Regions from separate parts of the Homo sapiens genome. Here region 1 is linked to region 2. The links are contacts of gene promoters, found by promoter capture Hi-C in human tissues and cell types (Jung and others, 2019). All regions are on one chromosome and are shown on one strand. Each heading gives the region's core, a stretch centred on a gene start or on the middle of the fragment in contact. The rest is flanking DNA. Distances are from core to core; before and after follow the strand shown. Region 1 has its middle 73 kb from the start of METTL2B. Region 2 holds the start of METTL2B (methyltransferase 2B, tRNA N3-cytidine).

Evidence for each region. The method cuts DNA at HindIII sites, captures the fragments that hold promoters and counts their contacts. A contact is called where the count stands out against the background at its distance.
Region 1: a contact is called between a fragment that was not itself captured here and the fragment with the promoter of METTL2B in region 2, in 3 of the 25 tissues and cell types used here (H1 embryonic stem cells, spleen and stomach).

The regions. Positions count from the first base shown.
Region 1 is chr7:128,548,603-128,551,517 of GRCh38, forward strand. No RefSeq gene overlaps it. Among named protein-coding and RNA genes, the nearest start is that of METTL2B, 73 kb to the left of the region's middle. The HindIII fragment of the contact is 6,373 bases long and covers 1-2,915 here.
Region 2 is chr7:128,475,189-128,478,086 of GRCh38, forward strand. METTL2B (methyltransferase 2B, tRNA N3-cytidine) reads left to right here and starts at 1,560. Exons shown (of 9, transcript NM_018396.3): 1 at 1,560-1,687; 2 at 1,894-1,985. The coding sequence starts at 1,578. RefSeq lists enhancers at 1,397-1,446, 1,667-1,836. The HindIII fragment of the contact is 14,580 bases long and covers 1-2,898 here.

The DNA.
Region 1 (2,915 bases), core at 249-2,748, 73 kb after region 2:
GGCCCAGATGCATTGTATAGTCTTGAGGCATTTATAATCAGACAAACAGGGACTCAGATGCCTATGGCACATAGCTGAGGATGGACATGCTGATGGGAAGGTATTATGAGCCCAGAATAAGGGAGTATAATTAACTTGTTCATTGTGTATTGCTCAGAAAGCAGAATTAAGATTACTGTAGATTGGCTGGGTGTGGTGGCTCATGCCTATCATCCTAGCACTTTGGGAGACCGAGGCAGGTGAATCACTGGAGGTGAGGAGCTTAAGACCAGCCTGGCCAACATGGTGAAACCCCGTCTTTACTAAAAAATACAAAAATTAGCTGGGCATGGTGGTGGGCACTTGTAACCTCAACTACTTGGGAGGCTGAGGCAGGAGGATCACTTGAACACGGGAGGCGGAGGTTGCTGTGAGCCAAGATTGCACCACTGCGCTTCAGCCTGGGTGACAGAGCAAGACCCTATCTCCAAAAAAAAGGGAAACGATTACTGTAGATAAACAACCTCATGGCCGGGCATGAGGTGGTGGTGAGCCAAGATCACACCATTGCAGTCTAGCCTGCGCAACAGGAGGGAAACTCCATCTCAAAAAACAAAAAACTCAGAACAATTTTGATACAATATTATTAGGAATAAATTAAAGAATGATGAGTACAGGATAGCTTGGTTTTGAAGCTTAGCAAAAGAGTTTAGAGTCCAGGGCAGAGGCCTTTTTTATTTTTTATTTTTATTTTTAGATAGGGTCTCGCTCTGTCACCCAGGCTGGAGTGCAGTGGCGCAGTCTTGGTTCACTGCAACCTCCGCCTCCCAGGCTCAAGTGATCCTCCCGCCTCAGCTTCCCAAAGTGATGGGATTACATGCGTGAGCCACCACGCCTGGCCGAGACGTGTTTTTAAATAATTAATCTTGATTAGTTTCCTTGAAGTCTAGGTATGTGGTAAAAAATTTTAAAAATTATATATATATATATTTTTTGGAGACGGAGTCTTACTCTGTCACCCAGGCTGGAGTGCAATGTCATGATCTCGGCTCACTGCAACTTCCACCTCCCAGGTTCAAGCGATTCTCCTGTCTCAGCCTCCCGAGTAGCTGGGATTATGGGCGCACACCGCCATGCCCAGCTAATTTTTTTTTTGTTTTTTAGTAGAGACGGGGTTTCATCGTGTTGTCGAGGCTTTGGTCTCGAACTCCTGAGCTCAGGCAATCCACCCACCTCTGCCTCTCAAAGTGCTGTGATTATAGGCGTGAGCCACCATGCCTGGCCCCAAAATTAAAATTTTTTACTAGTTAATATATAGTACACAATTCAGAATCTTTCACAGATATACAGTGAAACATCTCTTCTACATTTCTCCCTTATCCACCTGGTTTCCTTCCTAGAGACAACTGTTATAAAGTTTCTTATATTTGAGAGATATATCTGCAAATACTTTTGTATATTCAACCCTTCCATTTTTAAAAAATGCAACTATATTATATAAACTATTGTGCATTTTGCTTCTTGTGCTTAAGATATTTCAGGAATTGTTTTACATTCATACATATAGAGCTTCCTTGTTCTGTTTTTCAAGGCTGCTTTGTATTTCATTGTATGGCTGAACCGTTTCCTGTTGATGGACACTTAGATGGACAGCAGTGTTTTGTTGATATAAATAGTGCTATAGTGAATAATCTTGTACATAATGTCATTTAACACACATTCAGATACATTTACGGGATAAATCCCTAGAAATGGAATTGCTTTTTTCAAGGATATATGCATTTGTAATTTTAGTAGATATGGCCACATTCTTCTCCATGGAGAGGGGGAATTTGTCTCCCATGGTCAAGTATGGCAAGGGGTGGACAGGCATCAGGGTCCTTGAACTCTGTGAAATGATAGGTAAATATTTGTGTGTGTATATACATGGATGTATATTTTTCTTTAGAAAGAGTCCATGGTTTTATTACGTTCTTAGAAAGTTGTTTGGGGCTGGGCACGGTGGCTCATGCCTGTAATCCCAGCACTTTGGGAGGCTGAGGCAGGTGGATCACGAGGTCAGGAGATTGAGACCATCCTGGCTAACATAGTGAAACCCCGTCTCTACTAAAAGTACAAAAAAAATTAGCTGGGCATGGTGGGGGGCGCCTGTAGTCCCAGCTACTCGGGAGGCTGAGGCAGGAGAATGGTGTGAACCCGGGAGGCAGAACTTGCAGTGAGCCAAGATCGCACCACTGCACTCCAGCCTGGGCAACAGAGCGAGACTCCATCTCAAAAAAAAAAAAAAAAAGTTCTTTGGCCAGGCACAGTGGCGAGGCCCAGCACTTTGGGTGGCCAAGGCAAGAGGACCATTGAGCCTAGGAGTTTGAGACCAGCCTGGGCAAAGTGGTGAAACCCCATCTCTACAAAAAATACAAACAATTAGCCGGGCATGGTGGCATGTGCCTATAGTCCCATCTGCATCTGTCCAGGAGGCTGAAGTGGGAGGATCACCTGAGCCTTGGAGGTTGAGGTCAAGGCTAGAGTGAGTTGTATTTGCACTTCTACACTTCAGCCTGGGTAACAGAGTGAGTCCCTGTCTCAGAAAAAAAAAAAAAAAAAATTCTGTGACTCAAAATAGGTTAAAGAAACCACTGACTTGTAGTTAGTTGACCTGAATTAAGCACACTGCTTTGTTTTTCTCTACACAGTATTTTTCTCTTACAGGAAGTATTTGAGCAGAAGCTATGTACATAATTATTAGAGATGTTGTGTGGAAAGTCATTGTGGAAGAGACTGGACTAAATCTAATTCCCAACCTTTTACTGTTATTCCTCCCACTCTTGAGACCATGTTTTAAAAGGCTTTTTCCCCCATTATTAGACTGAATTTATTAAGCAGTACTTTATTTCTCCAATTTTATTAATGAGAGCTTTAGATAGTTTGTGGTAAGTTTT
Region 2 (2,898 bases), core at 310-2,809:
AGAAAAGATAAAAATTCCTTGTACTTGTTTCTGGGTATGGAGCTTGTGTTCAAAATGTTTCCAAAGACCACAAGAATGGCAAAAGCATATTGTCTTCAAATGAAGTACAACTTCTTTACTATCTTTTTGATTAACTTGTGTATTTTTCTTCCTGATTAGAGAGGCTTAGAGCTTGTTCCCATTTCTTTGGAGGAAAAGTATAGAATCATTCATTGCTCCCTGTAGTTTTACCTACAGAAAGAATTTACAATGGAATAAACAATTACTGGCTGGGCACGGTGGCTCACACCTGTAATCCCAACACTTTGGGAGACCGAGGTGGGCAGATCATTTGAGGTCAGGAGTTCAGGACCAGCCCAGGCAACATGGTGAAACCCCATCTCTACTAAAAATACAAAAATTAGCCGAGTGTGGTAGCGCGCACCTGTAATCCCGGCTACTCAGGAGGCTGAGGCAGGAGAATCACCTGAGCCCAGGACATGGAGGTTATAACGAGCTGAGATCCAGCTACTGCACTCCAGCCTGGGAAACAGAGCAAGACTCCGTCTCAAAAAAAAAAAAAAAAAAGTACTAATTACCAATGTGCTATGTCTAGCACTGCACTAACCCTTTCCTTTTTTAAAAAAATTCATCTTTCCCTTTATTCTGACATTATGACATTAAATAAAGTCCAAGAGATATTGGGCTGGTCCTTGTTTGGTCTCTGCCCTTTCCTTCTTTTCCAAGTGGTATTCATCATGCTTCTCTTGGAAGTCTTCTCAAATAACCTTATGTCTATAACATACTTTCTTCTAGATTCTTTTGAGAGTCTATTTGTATTAGATCTAGAAATAGAAATGTAAGGCTGAAATGTATTACTATGACAAACTGTATGTGTGTATTACAATCTTAATTGTGCTAATAAGGATAATTATAATAAATATAATATGGATGATTCAAAAAGGTTAGATGGTTATAATTAAAAAAAAATTGTCCTTGGATATTCCATTTGATTTGCTAAGCCTCGTGTTCTCTAATTTCATATATCCATCTCCCCCACCCCAACCAAAATATATATACACACTGTGTATACATATACACCCACACTATGAAGAGCTGACTATAGAAGCTGGAAATTGCCCTGTTTCTTTCCGCTGCTTGCTACCTTCTTCAGTTCTGGACATCGGCTCCGCAGTGGAACTAGGTAGCCTCAACTCTTATAATGATTCAAGATTATTCCTGTTTTACAACTTGAGGGAAGCTGGGGAACCTGTTAAGAGGATCCCAGCAATGAACTGGGCCTCAAGTGGAATGTCTCCCACTTTCTGCCTAACCTGCACGTCCATCAGCACCTCATCAATGAGATACGACTCCTCCGGGGAGAATTTCCCCCTGCCTGGTCCCCTTCCCTAGAGAGCCCTTCGCCAACCCTGGGAAAGCCCCAAACGACAGCTCCCGAGCGCCACCCGGACCAGACTCCAGGACCGCCCTGTCCCGCCACCCTTTTTCCCGCCCAGACTCCACGTCTTCTGAAAGAGGGCGTGGCCCGCAGGAAGTTCTCGCGTTACGGAAAGTGAAGTGTTTCCGGCTCCGGTGTCATGGCCGGCTCCTACCCTGAAGGTGCACCTGCAATCCTCGCCGATAAGAGGCAGCAGTTCGGAAGCCGGTTCCTGAGCGATCCGGCGCGCGTCTTCCACCACAATGCCTGGTAATCACCCTGCCCCCTCGCCCGGCCTGTCGCTGGCCGTCTGTCCCGCCGCCTCGGAGCATTCCGAAAAGCCCCTGACCGCCGGCCACGAGTCAAGCTGCCCTACCCGAGGCACTCTCCAAGGGGAGAGAAACTCCTAGGCCAGCGACTCACCCTGCTCGCAGCCAGGACGTGAAGCCCCTAAGCTGCCCGTTTGATTTTCTCAGGGACAATGTGGAGTGGTCGGAAGAGCAAGCCGCGGCGGCGGAGAGAAAAGTCCAGGAGAACAGTATCCAGCGGGTGTGCCAGGAGAAACAAGGTGCGCTTAAATGGGCTCTCGTTGGTATCAACAGCCAGCGTACTGCCGAACGCGCCCTCCCGGAGAGGCCAGGGAACCGCGGCCGCCCACATCCTTTATTCCTGGCCTGATGCGGATCTCAGGAGTAGAGCAGGACAGGGAGGGGATGAGCAAGGAGGGAAAAGGGCTGCATTGTAACAAAATCTTAAGTCGTAGAGGGTTTTTTTAATATATAGTTTTACTTTGGAGGAGGGTAATTTTGTCTTTAATTATGTTGAGTAGATCCACGTTGATATGGCTAGCCAATGACAACTGTGTGGTCACGCGATCATCTTAGAACCTGTACTTTTTACATGATTTGCATTTTCCATGAGGAGATGTTTCCATTGAAGCTTCATTTAAGTGATTAGATTCTAAATATTGTTGGGAGGGGGGCTAATGACTGGTGACTGTGTGTCTATTACTTGTGTGATGGTTATGAGAATTTAGGGCTTCAGTCAAGGAAAGGTGGATGCAGCAGAGTGGAGATAAGTCTGGCCAAAGAAAAGGAGGCCCCTGCTTGAGAGGTTGATGATTTCACTGCAAAATATCCCTAGATAGTAAAACTAGGACTGATTGTTCCAGACAATTGAAGATAGCACTACAAATTTAGTACCTGCTGAAAGAGTTCTGTACAACAAAAAGGTTCCAGTTACAAAACATTCACCCTGCATAGTCTGACAGCAACTAGATCAAAGCAAGTTAATAGTTAAAAGGGATTTTGAAAATCATGTGGTTCAATATTCTCTTTTTATAGTTAAAGACACTTGGACCACAGGACATTAAGTGCTTTTCCCAGAGGTAAGCAGTCAGTAGTAGCAGTAGTGGAACTAAAATCCTGTTTCTTAGGGAGTCTTGGTTGATTCAGCAGGTGAGTTGTGAGTTGTTAACACAC